2 separate regions of the Homo sapiens genome follow, and region 2 is linked to region 1. Evidence: promoter capture Hi-C in human tissues and cell types (Jung and others, 2019). All regions are on one chromosome and are shown on one strand. Each heading gives the region's core, a stretch centred on a gene start or on the middle of the fragment in contact. The rest is flanking DNA. Distances are from core to core; before and after follow the strand shown. Region 1 holds the start of RAB4A (RAB4A, member RAS oncogene family). Region 2 has its middle 100 kb from the start of RHOU.

Evidence for each region. The method cuts DNA at HindIII sites, captures the fragments that hold promoters and counts their contacts. A contact is called where the count stands out against the background at its distance.
Region 2: a fragment that was not itself captured here is called in contact with the fragment with the promoter of RAB4A in region 1 in 3 of the 25 tissues and cell types used here (dorsolateral prefrontal cortex, hippocampus and spleen).

What each region holds. Positions count from the first base shown.
Region 1 is chr1:229,267,927-229,274,841 of GRCh38, forward strand. RAB4A (RAB4A, member RAS oncogene family) reads left to right here and starts at 3,185. Exons shown (of 8, transcript NM_004578.4): 1 at 3,185-3,444. The coding sequence starts at 3,414. RAB4A-AS1 (RAB4A antisense RNA 1) reads right to left here and starts at 3,228. Exons shown (of 2, transcript NR_149313.1): 1 at 3,050-3,228. RefSeq lists silencers at 2,997-3,526, 3,567-3,726. The HindIII fragment of the contact is 8,116 bases long and covers 1-5,851 here.
Region 2 is chr1:228,834,349-228,841,263 of GRCh38, forward strand. No RefSeq gene overlaps it. Among named protein-coding and RNA genes, the nearest start is that of RHOU, 100 kb to the left of the region's middle. The HindIII fragment of the contact is 4,581 bases long and covers 1,409-5,989 here.

The sequences.
Region 1 (6,915 bases), core at 1,935-4,434:
AAAAAATAAAATAAAATAAATACATACGTATGTGCAGTTATGCCTATACTTCAATAAAATTGTTTCAAATAAAAGCACGATGAGCTGCCTGGACAGGTGAAAATTCCAGTGGTAGTCATAATGTCTTTCCATAGACTTTCTCTTCTCCTTTCTTTCAGGGACATAACAATATTGCATTTCCTGTCCTCTTTGAAATTAAGTGTTGCCACATGACTTGCTTTGGCCCATGAAATGTAAATAGAAGTTCTTATAGCAATTCCTGGTAAGTGCTTCTCTAACTAATGCACAATCAGTCCTAATGCATAGCCACTCCTACCTGAGTGATTGTGGAGATGCATTTAGATAAAACACACTCGGTCAGCCTGGGTCTAGGAGGGCCCATGAGCAAGTCTCTGCTCGTGGGAGTGGACAGGTAGTCTGAGCGAGGAACTTTGCTGCGTAAGTCATAAATGGGTTGAGAGATCTGCATTACTGCAGTTAATCTAGCCCATTCTGACTGAATATTCCCTAGCAACAGAGGTATCTGATCATGGACATAGTTTTGACAGTGGAAGGTAAAGTGGCCCAGTGACCTCTGAGGTGTCTACTTTCTTGAAGATGTGAGTTATATGTCATAGTCTCCACCAGCCTGGGTGTGGAATTGAGCTTCCATTTTCAAGTCTCCACTTGTATGTCTGGAATTTGGCTCCTTCTCAAGGTAACACCCAGGGATTGCTGAGTTCCCAAGTGCTCAGACACAAGTCCACTCATTTTCTTCAATTCCAGTTACCAAAGAAAGTCACCATTCCACCGAGGCTGTGACCAGTGCCCTCCACCAGGCCTAGCTCCAAGAATCTCATGCATCAAGCCCCAGGGCTCCTCACGTTGGGCATTAAATGTAAGGTCATGCCACATTCTTTAACATTGTCAGGAAGCAGGAAGGAAAGTACCAGATACTTGAAGGACCCACTGACCTGGAAAAAAGTGGGATCTAGTTTCAGCTTGAAAAAATCCTTCTTCATAATTACATTTCCCTTAGGCAAATCTCTAACATGCCTAGGCTTTTGTATATCTGTTTTTACTGCGTCACAAACCTCCCCCAAAGAGAAGGGAGACGATAACTGGAGAAAACCACAAATTAATCTTCCAATATTTTTTTCTTCCATATAATCAGCAGTGCCTCAGAATCAAAGCAGTCTCTAAAAATATTTTGAAGAAATTTATTTTCTTGGATCTTCAAAGATCCAAAGTTACTGAGATGCAAAGAATCTTCCACAGTATCATCCAAGGATACTGAAGGGCTCCTTCAAACCTCGCCCTTGTATATTTCTTCTTCCAGTTGTGATACTGCAGTTACATTTGCAAACCAAATGATCCCTTTGGGTGGTTTTTCCAAAACAAATCGTCTTTCCCAAAGGCCTACCTAAGTCTTCATTTTCCACAAAGTAGAAAACTGCCCACAGCTTTGAAATGGCAGCATAATTTGTATTTCTACCACCTTGTCCAGGTTTCAGGGATCTCTGGTCCAGTTTCAGTCAATAATGCTAACTATCACTGCAGCTCACTGACTTCTTTCTTGTACATAGCAGTTTTTCGCAGGAAGAAAACAAATCTAACGAATAGGAATAACTTCAGGTGATGCTGTTTTCTTCCCGCTTCCTGGGATCACTGTCTTTCCTCTGAAATGGTTTTAATCAGAACCAATCTGTTATACTCAGGAGCCTAAATCAAACACGACATGCAGAGAGACAAACAAGAAAGCAACAAATGATCTGAGCCACTGAACAAGAAATATATATAAAACAGTTTTAGGAATTACAGCTGTCACAACTTTTCACCATGGGGCCTTCTCTGTGATTTAGAAAAAACTGCATTTATTTGTTATTAGGATCGGAGACAAGAGAAAAATACCGACCCAAATAGCCACTGGGGAAGAGGGAAGCTCTGATGCCAATTTATGTGGAGGATGGAGCCAAACTGACTCACACACACACACACAAAAGTATGTACTGGCATTTTCCACACAGTCCAGGTCACTTGGGAGCTTAGCCAAGGATATTTTGAGCATTCGACTACCTATTGTGAACAAGGTTGGGAACTATGAGGCGCTATGTGGCCCTGATCAAGCTCAGATGGGCCAAATCCTCAACCAAAATTCTCTTTCCCATAAATGTTTATCTCTACATTTCCCACAGAAGGGGATTCTAACTCAGTTTTGCTTCTGAAACCAAACTATCCAAGGCCAGGTGAGATGACTCATGCCTGTAATCCCAGCAATTTGGGAGGCCAAGGAGGGAGGATGCTTGAACTCAGGAGTTCAAGACCAGCCTGGGCAACATAACAAGACCCCATCTCTACAAAAAATTTAAAAATTGGCGCGGTGTGGTCGTGTGAGCCCCTAGCCCCAGCTACTCAGGAGGCTGAGGCAGGAGAATCGGTTGGGCTGGGCTGACAGTGCCAGACCCTGTTAAAAAATAAAAATTAAAAAAACTCCTAAATTTGGAAACACATCCCCAGCTGAGGGCCGGGAGATACTTCTCAACCGTAATCCAGAACCCTCTAAAATGGGATGTGGAGAGGCTGCAGCCTGTAGTCTTGCGATGACCTTTTAGCACCTGGGCATCTTGCGCTTCTGTCATTCCGCCCACACCCGCTCAGCTCCATCCAAGAGGGCCCGGCAGTTTGGAGTGAAAGCTTAGCTTCCCAACGGGTAAATGAACCTGCCTCCCATTCACAGGGCGGCCTCTGGCTGGACACCTGGGGCCTACTGCCTCCTTGTTACACATTAACCAAGTTCTGGCCTCCATCGTAACAGCGTCAGGGAAGTTTTTTCCTGGCTGACAGCCGCAGATGATGACCGAAGACAACGTCTTAACTGAGACGGGCCAATTTGGCAAATGGACTGCTTTCCTCCCCAGTGCGGGCACCTTCCTCCTCTGTCCGGCAACTGGACCCCACTGTCCCCAGCCCTCTGTCACCCCCAAACCTGCCCACCGCCCGCCTCTACCCGACCCTCCCTCAGGGAAATCGGGACTCAGCCCCCAACGCCCCCACCTGCCGCTCTGCCCACCTCAGCGCACACCGCCAGAGCGCCCAGCCCGCGCACGTGCTTCCGGCGCGCGCCGAAGTCCTCACGCGCCCCGCCCCGGCCTCCCCGTGCGCACGCGCGAACGCGGGGTGGGCCGGGCCTCGCGTAGCCCATCTCCTCTTCCTCCTCGCGGTCGCGGCCGGACGGAGGGTGGAGGGCCCTGCGCCTGCGCGGAGCTGGAGTCCGGCTGGGCCGCAGCCGCTGGGAGACCGGCGGTTGCCGTGGGGACCGGTCGGGCCCCTCCCTCCTCCGGTCCCCCGCCCCAGGTCCTTCCCCACCGAGACGCGCCGGCGGACCGCGGGCGAGTGCAGCCGGTGACCCGGCGAGAGGCGGCGCCGCTCCCAAGATGTCGCAGACGGCCATGTCCGAAACCTACGGTACGAGGCCCGGGCTGGCGGGGCGCGCGGGTCGGGCCGCGGGGGGCGTCGGTGGCGCGGGGCCGGGCCTGGGCTGCGGGGGTCTTGAGGGTGGCGGTGGCGCCGGCCGGAGCCGGGGGACGGATCTCGGAGGTGTCTGGGCTTGGGACCGGGATGGGGGACGCGGGCCGCTGGGGGCTCGGGTGGGGTAGCGGGTGCGCGGGGCGCGGGGGCGCTGTGCACAGCGCATTGGCGTGATCCGCCTTTTCAAGTTTCCTCTTGCTCTTTCTCTGCTCTTGCACTCTTAGCGCTTTTCCCCTCTCAGTCTAATGTAAATAACTGAAGGTTTGAAAAGCCAGCTTGATGTTCGGTTTCAGCTGCGATATTATCCCCAGCGAGCCTGTGAAGGGCTTAGGGCGACGCCTGTGTTCCTCAAATACTTCAGTTTGACCTTTCCTGGTTTGGAATTCCTTGCTTTACATTGGGATTACAGTGAGGAGTTATTAATAGGCTAATTCATTCATCTCTTCCTCCGGAGACCTCTTGCTTCGTTTATTTCTCCCTCCCTCTCAGTGTTTTTTAGCCTTTTCTGGGTTGCATTTTGGCTATTTATAAACATGTCTTGTCTCCTTCTTAAGACCGTAAGCACCTTGGAAGCAAAGCCCTGGCTGTTTAATCTTTGTTTCCCCTGCAGCACCCAGACCTGGAGGTGCTTGACAAATACTGTTTTGAATAAGCGAAAGCTTTCCCAGTGCATATGCTGTGTGCTTTTTTTTTTTTCTCCCCTTTTTTGGCCTTGCGTGGTAAGAATAAACAACTTGTACTTTGTATCAGAGTTGAATATTAATAGATGTTTACCAGTCCCTAATCACTCTTTCAGATGTATGTATTCTCAGATTAAGACTTTGATTTGGAGTTTTACAGTCCCAGAGAGAGGCTCAAGTTCAAAATTACATACCTCAAGCCAAATTAGTCCTGTCTCCATCTGTCCTGGCATGCTGCTTCCTTCTCTGCAACAAATACTGTGGAATGGCATTAGGGAAGCGAGCACCGTGCTGGGAGGGCTGTACATCCTGCAGAAACACAGCAGACACGGCTCTGGTCTCATGGAGCGTAGTCTATTGAGGGAATGCAGTATTAATCCAATTGTGATACTAATGAGTGAATAATTAAAAACCAGGCAAGAGTTCTGAAGGAGTGTGGTCCGTGAAAGTGTGTTAGAAAGAAAGATGACCCAGACAGGGGTGTCAGGGAGGCATTAACCAGGCAGCACGCAGAACATCTCAGGCCTGTGGGAAGGGTAACTCAAGAAGGGTGTGTTTTGAGTACCACGCTGGAGAGGTGGATGAGGAGGCAGAGAGGAGAGGGTCTTGAGGAAGGCGTCAGTTTGTCTTGTAAGAAAAAATGGGAACTTTTGGAAGGGCTTCCATGCTGGGGTCACAGTGCATTTGGTCCACCTTCAGTGAGTGACTCCTGTGACTGGTACTGCCCTGTTCTTGGTGACAAAGGGGCATGACATCTGTTCCTAGAAGGCGTAGGAAATCCTCCAGTAAGTCGATGCCTTCATCAGGACAAGTGTTTGCAAATGTTTCTGCAAATGGCAGTGGTCTGGTTCTTCCTGTAGAGAACCACAGTCAGAAATGTTGTAAGGAAAACATGGTCTTTAGCAATTTTTGGTTACATCTTTGCACTTCTTTATTTTCAAGTGCTCTTTAGCCCAGGCTTAGTTTCTTTAACCTGAGTAAGGAGCACGGAGCACTAGGGGAAGGGTGGAATGTCCAAATAAGAAAAGCAAGTGGGGGTCATGAATCAGTAAGAAAGGATTGGAAGAGTTCAGGAGATAGAGCTTTTATGTTTCATTTTTCGTATACGCATGATAACAACTGATAAAATAGAGCTTATCTTTGGCATCTCCACTTCAGACACAGTTAACTGAACTTTTGAGCTTCACAGATTGATTACATTCTGATCATAAGGCTTTGACCATTAGTATTCTTATTTCATGGTAACTTCCAAGTATGTTTTTACTTTGCAACTCTGAATTGAATCTTTTCTTCTAATAGAGGAAATTAATCGAAAACTAGTAGAAACTAATAAATAGAAAATGAGGCCAGAGGTGATGGCTCACGCCTGTAATCCCAGCACTTTGGAAGGCCGAGTTGGGCGGATCACTTGAGCTCAGGAGTTCAATACCAGCCTGGCCAACATGGCGAAACCCCAGCCCTATTAAAAATACAAAAAATTACCTGGGCATGGTGGTACGCTTGTAGTCCCGGCTACTTGGGAGGCTGAGGCATGAGAATTGCTTGAACCCAGGAGGTGAAGTTTACAGTGAGCCAAGATTGTGCCACTGCACTCCATCCTGGGCAACAGAGTGAGACTCTGTCTCAAAAAAAGAAAATGAGTTTTAGAAGGAGCAAGCAGGACAGTTGAAGTTTGCCAAGCTGAAGTAAAAGTCACCTAGAACCAAGTCCTAGGCTGTCACTTTGACGTATCAGTGGCCATATTTATACAGCATTGTTCCTTAAAAGTGAAACAGTCAGGCTCTCTTCTGGACATTTGCCTCTGAGCTGGTGAAGGAATGTTTGCCTAACCTTTAAACTCCTTTGTACTCTGTGCTTATTTGCTCTTCTGTAAAAGGAGGCTCTGTGTAGCTTGACAGAGAGATGAGGAATGAAATGTACTGGGTTTTTGTTTCCCTTTTTTTTTTTTTTTTTTTTTGAGACAGGACCTCGCTCTGTCACCCATGCTGGAGTGCAGTGACACAATCACGGCTCACTGCCACCTCCATCTCCCCATCTCAAGTGATCCTCCCACTTCAGCCTCCTGAGTAGCTGGGACCACAGGTGCATGCCACCACACCTGGCTAATTTTTTTTTTTTTTTTAATTTTTTTTGTAGAGACGAGGTCTCTGTCTGTTGCTCAGTCTCATCCCGAACTCCTGGGCTCAAGTGATCCTCGTGCCTCCACCTCCCAAAATGTTGAGATCACAGGCATGAGCCACTGTGCCCTGCTGAAATGTACTGTTTATGAGCTACCTCTCATTAATGTGTTCATTTAATATGCTTTTTAACATATTAAAACAGTATTTCACCTTCCATAGACTGAGTAGTGTTGAACATTTTTGTTGCTTTGAAGTCACCACATGAATACTGTACTTTATGTAATATCGTGAAACAAATTGAAATCTTAGGTTTTGGATGAAACCCTTAGTCTGAATATGAAACAGTTCTACCAAATGCCATTAGATACACTACATTCTTAAAGCCCTGGCCAGTTAGTATGGCTTGGGACTTCCCAAGGAACTCTGCTTCAGCCATCTGAGACCTGGGAGATTACAAATTGGCTGAAAGTAATTTTGATGCTAAGCAGCGATGTTCAGAAAGGAGCTGAAAAGTATATGTAGTGGGAAAATGCCAGGAATTTCTTTTGAAATTAAGTGCTGGGGCAGTTCGAGAGTGAGGAAAAATCTAATACAAAATCTCTACATAT
Region 2 (6,915 bases), core at 2,449-4,948, 430 kb before region 1:
TCCTTAAACGGAGGACCACACACTGGCAGCTTTCAGCAATTTTCCTGGCTAAATATTGTTCTAGCCAGTGTTAGTTTTGACAGGATTAGTCATGGATCCTAATATAAGAGTCCCAGGATCCCTGTTGGTTGGAAAGCCTGTTAAAATATTGTTTTATTTCCCTGCAGCTCGTAAGCTCATGGAGCCCTGCGAGGCATTTTCACATATAGTGCTTCTTGGCCAATGTGTTTCAGAACATAGCAGCTGACGGGGTGAGAGGCAGCTGCCTTTCCTGAGTGAATCTTTGCCAGAGAGTGTTTGAAGAAATATCTTTAGGTAGACAAAAGGCTGCCACATAACGTGAGCAGGCTCAGGGGACACTCCTTGGGTCAGAAGTTGGTGCTGCGGGCTTGGTCAAGGTGTGGCAGCCACTCAGCCCTGACCGTGCTGTCTGTGCCTATGGAGTCTTTGATAGACTGGAGCTGGGCAGACCAGAAGGTAAGCACAGCCACAGTGAAGGAAAGCTGTGAGAAGCCAGCTGGTGGGAGCTTCTGGGAGTATGGTCATGTACTTTAAGACAGTGCCATGAAATATGGGCCACGTGGTTATTCTGAAGGCTTGATCCACGCTTCAAACATGACAGTTGACTCTTCCTTCAGCCAGTAGCTATTGTCTCTGTTTCATTTCGCTTTTACCGTATTATCTTAGTTCATTCTGCTTTGCTATAAAGGAATACCTGAAGCTGGGAAATTTATACAGAAGAGAGGTTTCTTTGGCTCATGGTTCTGCAGGCTGTACAAGCATGGCACCAGCATCTGCTCAGCTTCTGGTGAGGTGTCAGGAAGCTTCCCATCATGGTGGAAGGCAAGGGAATGTCACATAGTGAGAGAAGGAGCAAGAAAGAGAGGGAGGAGGTGTCAGGATCTTCTAAACAACTAGATCTTGCGAGAGCCCATACAGTGATAACTCATTAAGTACTATGAGGATAGCACCAAGACAGTAATGAGGGGTCTACTTCCATGACCTAAACACCTCCCACTAGGCCCACCTTTAACATTAGAGGTCACATTTCGCATGAGATTTGGAGAGGACAAAACATCCAAACCATATCACTTGTTATGAAGACTGTAGGGTGGAGTTGGTAGGTGGTTGGACAGCGTGCGGGATCTATGACCATTTTGGGTAATATCCCAGGTTATGGTCTCCAGGTTTTACTGAATTTGCTGGAAAAAATTATGCCTTTCATAAACTAATATTAGTGAATACCTACCTCACGCTCTGTTTTTTTCTTTTAAGAGATGGGGTCTTACTATGTTGCCCAGGCTGAAGTATAGTGGCTGCTCAGAGGCATGATCATCTCACACTACAGCCTTGAACTCCTGGGCTCAAGCGATCCCCCACCTCAGCCTCCCAAGTAGCTGGGACTATAGGCTCCTGCCACCAAGCCCGGGTCCTCTCTATTTTCTTGTAGCATGTTATGTGTCTATTTCTAACATGTTAAGCTGATTAAAAAGACCACAAAACAATGAGGCCAAAATTCTGTAAGTTTTGTGTCATTAATATTTTTTCTAAATAAAACCCACTCAAGTCTTGTTATTTTCTGAGTTTTCATTTCCAGCCTCTCTTATCCTCTAAGCCTTTCCTCATGTCATCTCAAAAATCTCTTCTTCCAATGCTACTCTGACTGTATCATTGCTTGGTTGCTGATTGCCTATCATAATTAGCCAGATTTGTCAGCATGAATGAATGCTCATGTCAGTGTCAGAACAGGCAATACACATTTGTTAAAGGGACAGATGTGTGAATGGGCGCTGATGTTCTGCATGGGTAAGTCCTTCCGCGTGGCTCACCCCTGTTTCTTTCCCACACTGCTGCAACAAGCCTGCCTACAGTTTCCTACCCTGGGATGCCTGCACTAGCATGCACACTGGAGGGCAAGCCTTTACTGACTGGAATGTCTGCACCTGACTATCTGTGCTAGTGGGATCAATGATGGATTCACCACCCGGCTAAGCTTTCCCTGAGTTACCTGGTTGACGATGTTCACTAATCCCATAGCCCCCAGGGCTTGAGAGTATCGTTCACAGCAGAGGAGTTTGCATTTCTTTATGTATGTAGTAACATATTATCTTTTATATGCACTTTACCTGCTTCTTCCTTAGAAGGTAGACTCCTCAGGGCCAGAAATACAGTCCTCTGTTTCTTTTATCCCTCCTCACAGCCTCTGCCAGTGCTCTGCAGCTCAAAGGTCCCTGATAAGCAGAGTGACTTCAGCATTGTAATGAACCAGAGCACAGAGAGAGGCTGTGCAAGCAAAGGGTAGGAGCAGCCCTAGAAGAAGGCACACATTCATTCCTCGGGTTGCAGCCTGTTTACAGAGGGAGAGAATCTCTGCTGCAGTTACCCAGCATCCAGGGGTCCATGCTCTGCCAGCGTCACTCAGCCACGTGAGATGGGGTGATTGGACCAAAGGAGATACATGGTGTTTTATTTAGTGATGGTGGGGCCATTTCTGTTTTTATTTGTTTTTAACTGGGGTATGTGTGTCAGGACCACACAGCAGCAGGGAGAAGCTTCCACCTGCTTGGAACAAAAATGGGAAGGCTGCATTTCCAGGCTGCATTTATCTTATGTGTAGTGTAAGCAGCATCGCTGACTGGGAAAGAAAAAAGGGTAAAGAGCATTATAGATGCCTGATAATTCAGTCCTTAAGAGATGGCTCACTCAATTGCTTGGTTTTGTATTTTCATTTCTTTTCCTGACTGAAAATGGATCTGGAGCCTGAGAGCACCTGATGTTGGGCGAGGCCTCTGGGTACGAGGTGGAAGTTCACATTTCTGGATTATGTGTAGTTTCAGAATGCCTTCTATCTCGGTGTCAGGATAGATGTTAAGATGCAGGAATTCTCATAAATCTTCTCGTTAAAAAGAAGAAAACAACAAAACTTCTCACAGAACATAAAAACCATGTCAGGTGGCCGGGCGTGGTGGCTCATGCCTGTAAACTCAGCACTTTGGAAGTCCAAGGTGGGTGGATCACGAGGTCAGGTATTTGAGACCAGCCTGGGCAACATGTGAAATCCCGTCCCTACTAAAAATACAAAAATTAGCGGGGAGTTGTGGCACACTCCTGTAATCCCAGCTACTCAGGAGGCTGAGGCAGGAGAATCGCTTGAACCCAGGAGGCAGAGGTTGCAGTGAGCCAAGATCATGCCATTGCACTCCAGTCTGGGCGACAGAGCAAGACTGTCTCAAAAAAAACCCCAAAAAAACAAAAAAAACCCATGTCAGGTTGCTCCCCTGAGCAAGGCCAAGCTCAGTTTTCACCTGGTGGTCCCATGGGGAGCTTCCTGTGGCTTAGTGTTTGCGTCTGCCATTTGCTATCCCTCCCCAGCACACCTTCCTGTGGATGGAACTTGCCAGAACTTCCTCAGCAACCCTGAAGAGGAAAGCTGGAGGCCCCAACAGACGCAGAAGTGGGCTGCACTGCTGTGCTTCCATGGGGCAGTCAGGGCTCAGGGCCCCAGCAGCAGGCCAAACCCCAGCCCAGCTCCCTTGCAAACCTCCTCTGTCATGTACCCTGGGAGTCAGGTCCAACCCCACTATGTCACAACTGAGGAAACAGAGGCCCCGAGAAGTTCAGGGAGAGCTGGGGTCAAGATGCTAGATCCTGCCTCTGGGTGTGGTGGCTTTTGTTCTTGTCATCCGGTGGGCACTGGGCCTGCCCCGCACAGCTCCTTCACCCCGGAGAGGTGACAGCAGACTACATTAGGCCCTGCCAGGCCCAAAGACTCCAGCCTGTTAATCTTTAACCAGAGCTCTGGACAAAGGTAGCCCTTCTGACCTCCTGAGAGTTTCTGAATAGCTCGGAGGCTTCTGTGACAGAGCCACACGTTAGCAATGACATATATTTAGTGCAGGGAGGCATGTTGAGTACAGTTCTAAATTCTGTTGTGAATTGTGCCCAGGGAACAAGCACAGAGAACATTTTCACCATGGATATGTATGTACTTGTAAGAAGCAGCTGGGTGGTTCCTTCAGCAATCTGCTGAGCTGTGGCGATTACATCACACACTGGTGCAAAGGCCTTGAACCATTAATGTGCTGCCTCTGCGAGGGTGACCAGGATTCCAGCAATGAACAGAGAAGGTGCTTGTCCCCACTGCTCACTGGGTGCCTTCAGATTCTTAACTTTTGTCTTTTTCTTTTTTCTTTCACTTCTTACCTGTATCTATAAAACAGGACTCTGTTTGCTTTGAAAAGAGCCAGAATGACCTCAGGGGTCAGTGACTCATGCTGTTGGCTCTGTGAACACAATCGAGTGCCCCTTACGTAAGAAGCTCCTGCTATCTGAGGGAAGGGAGGTCCGAGCCATTATTCCTTGGTTATAAACACTCCATGTGGTTTTGTTTGGTGGTTTTAAAAAAGGTGTGTCCACAGGGTTGGTGTTCTAGAATCGTGGGCAGAAAGAAGTCTAGCTCCTTTCATCCAAGGTTCTAAAGGGTTCTCTGAGCTGTAACTCAGCTCTAACTGGACAAAGAGGCAACAATTCCCCTCATTTCCTGTGCGCTGTCACCACAGGAGGCTACACTTAAGGAGGTCAACTCAAGTTGTTTGGACCAAGCTTCCGCAGTTGTTCCCATTATCCTGTTTGAATCCATTCACTCTTACACTGGCCATGCAAATAGACACTCCCCAAGGAAAGAAGGACCTTAGAAAATAAGTGATCTCAGTTTTCATCTGACTTTCTTCTGGGGTGTGGGGCTGGTCATGGGTCTATATTCCCTGCTGTGGTCAGGGCCCTGTGGGACATGTGGCTGTGTCCCAGCCCTCTAGCACAATCTGCCGTCACTCCTGGGCTTTTGTATGCCTGCTCCCATTTGCTCTTATCTCCTCAACAACCACGTCAGGTAGATAATACATACCATCAGTCCCAGTTTACAGATGAAAAAAGTGAGGCACAGGGAGCTTCAGTAACTTGATCAAGACTAGAATTCAGAGAAATAGCCAAACCATGACTCATGATCCTCTTGCTCCAAAGTGCGTTGTCTCCCCCACAGCCCACTATATTTGTTGTTTATTTTTGAAAATGGTCATGAACTCAGCTAAGACGCTGGGGCAGTGGAGCGGAGGGAGAGAGCCTGCTCTTCACAGAGGGCTTATGGGGTGAGAGGAAGGGAAGCTAAGTACAGGGCAGGCCGGGGCCATCTAAGGTGGCCTCTGACCATCCTGGAGAGGCATGGGGCTAGAGAATGAAGAATGAGGCAGAAATGAGCGTTTTTGAACTGGTTTACCGAGCAAGAACTAGAATGGAAGGGGACATATTACAAATGACAAATGCCTGATCCAAAGCCCATGAGATGCTATTGATGAGGGCCACGGACCCTTACTCTGTGCAGACACAGAGGCTTGGATGCACACACTTGCATACACACACACACACACACACGCACTGTTTTGTTTTGCTCTGCTTTATTTTTGCCACTGTGGAATAATAAGAAGTACAGTCACGCATTGCTTAATGATGGGGATGCAGTCTGAGAAATGCATCAGGTGATTTCATTGTTGTTTGAACGTCATAGAGAGTACTTACACAAACCTAGACGGTATAACCTACTACATACCTATACTATATGGGATAACCTATTGCTCCTGTACCAAATACTGTAGGCAATCGTAACACAGTGGTATTTGTGAATCTAAACATATCTAAACACAGAAAAGGTACCATAAAAATGTGGTTAGAAAAGATGAAAAATGGGGCTGGGCGTGGTGGCTCACGCCTGTAATCCCAGCACTTGGGAGGCCAAGGTGGGCGGATCACTTGTGGTCAGCAGTTTGAGACCAGCCTGGCCAACATGGTGCAACCCCATCTCTACTAAAAGTAGAAAAATTAGCTGGGTGTGGTGGTGTGTGTCTGTAATCCCAGCTAGTCGGGAGGCTGAGGCAGGAGAATCATTTGAACCTGGGAGGTGGAGGTTGCAGTGAGCCGAGATTGTGCCACTGCACCACTGCACTCCAGCCTGGGCCACAGAGCGAGACTCTGTCTGAAAAAAAAAAAAATTAAAAAAAAGATGAAAAAAGGTACACGGTCTAGGGTAGTTACCGTGAATGGAGCCTGTGGGACTGGAAGTTGCCCTGAGTGAGCCAGTGAGTGAGCGGTGAATGAATGGAAAGGCCTGGGATGTTACATTACTGTACACTAAATTTATTTTAGCTACACTAAATTTATTAAAAAATAAAGTAATTGCACTATGACATTATGACAACCATGGCATGCATCGCTAAGGGATAGGTATTTTTCAGATTCATTGTAATCTTTTGAGATCACCATCATATGTATGGCCCATCCTTGGCTAAAATGCCATTATTTAGCATATGACTGTACACATATTGGTCTCTGCCCTCAGTTCCTGACACAGAGCTCTTAAAATCCTTGGAGTTTCTTGAGAGATAGGAGTGCTAGTAGCATCTTTTGTTCTAATCGGGCAACTCTGGCTGGGCTCCTAGATAGCCTCGGGATGGGAGTTGGTGGCCAGGGGAACCAACCATGTGATTATAAAGTTGGAACTTTCACCCCCACCCCTAACCTCAGGGGAGGGAAGAGGGGCTGAAGGTTGAGCTGAACATCAATGGCCAATGATTTAATCAATCATGCCTACATAATGAAGCCTCTATAAAACCCCAAAGTACAGGGTTCAGGGAACTTCCAGGCAGCTGAACTCATGGAGGTTTCTAGAGACTCGCACACAAGGAGAGGACATGAAGGTCTGAGCGCCTTCCACATGCCTCGCCCTGTGCCTCTCTTCATCTGTATCCTACATAATATCCTTTATAATACACCAGTAAACACAGCTACGTGACTCTCTGAGTTCTGTGAGCTGCTCTAGCAAATTAATTAAACCCAAGGACAGGGTCTTAGGAACCCAGATTTATA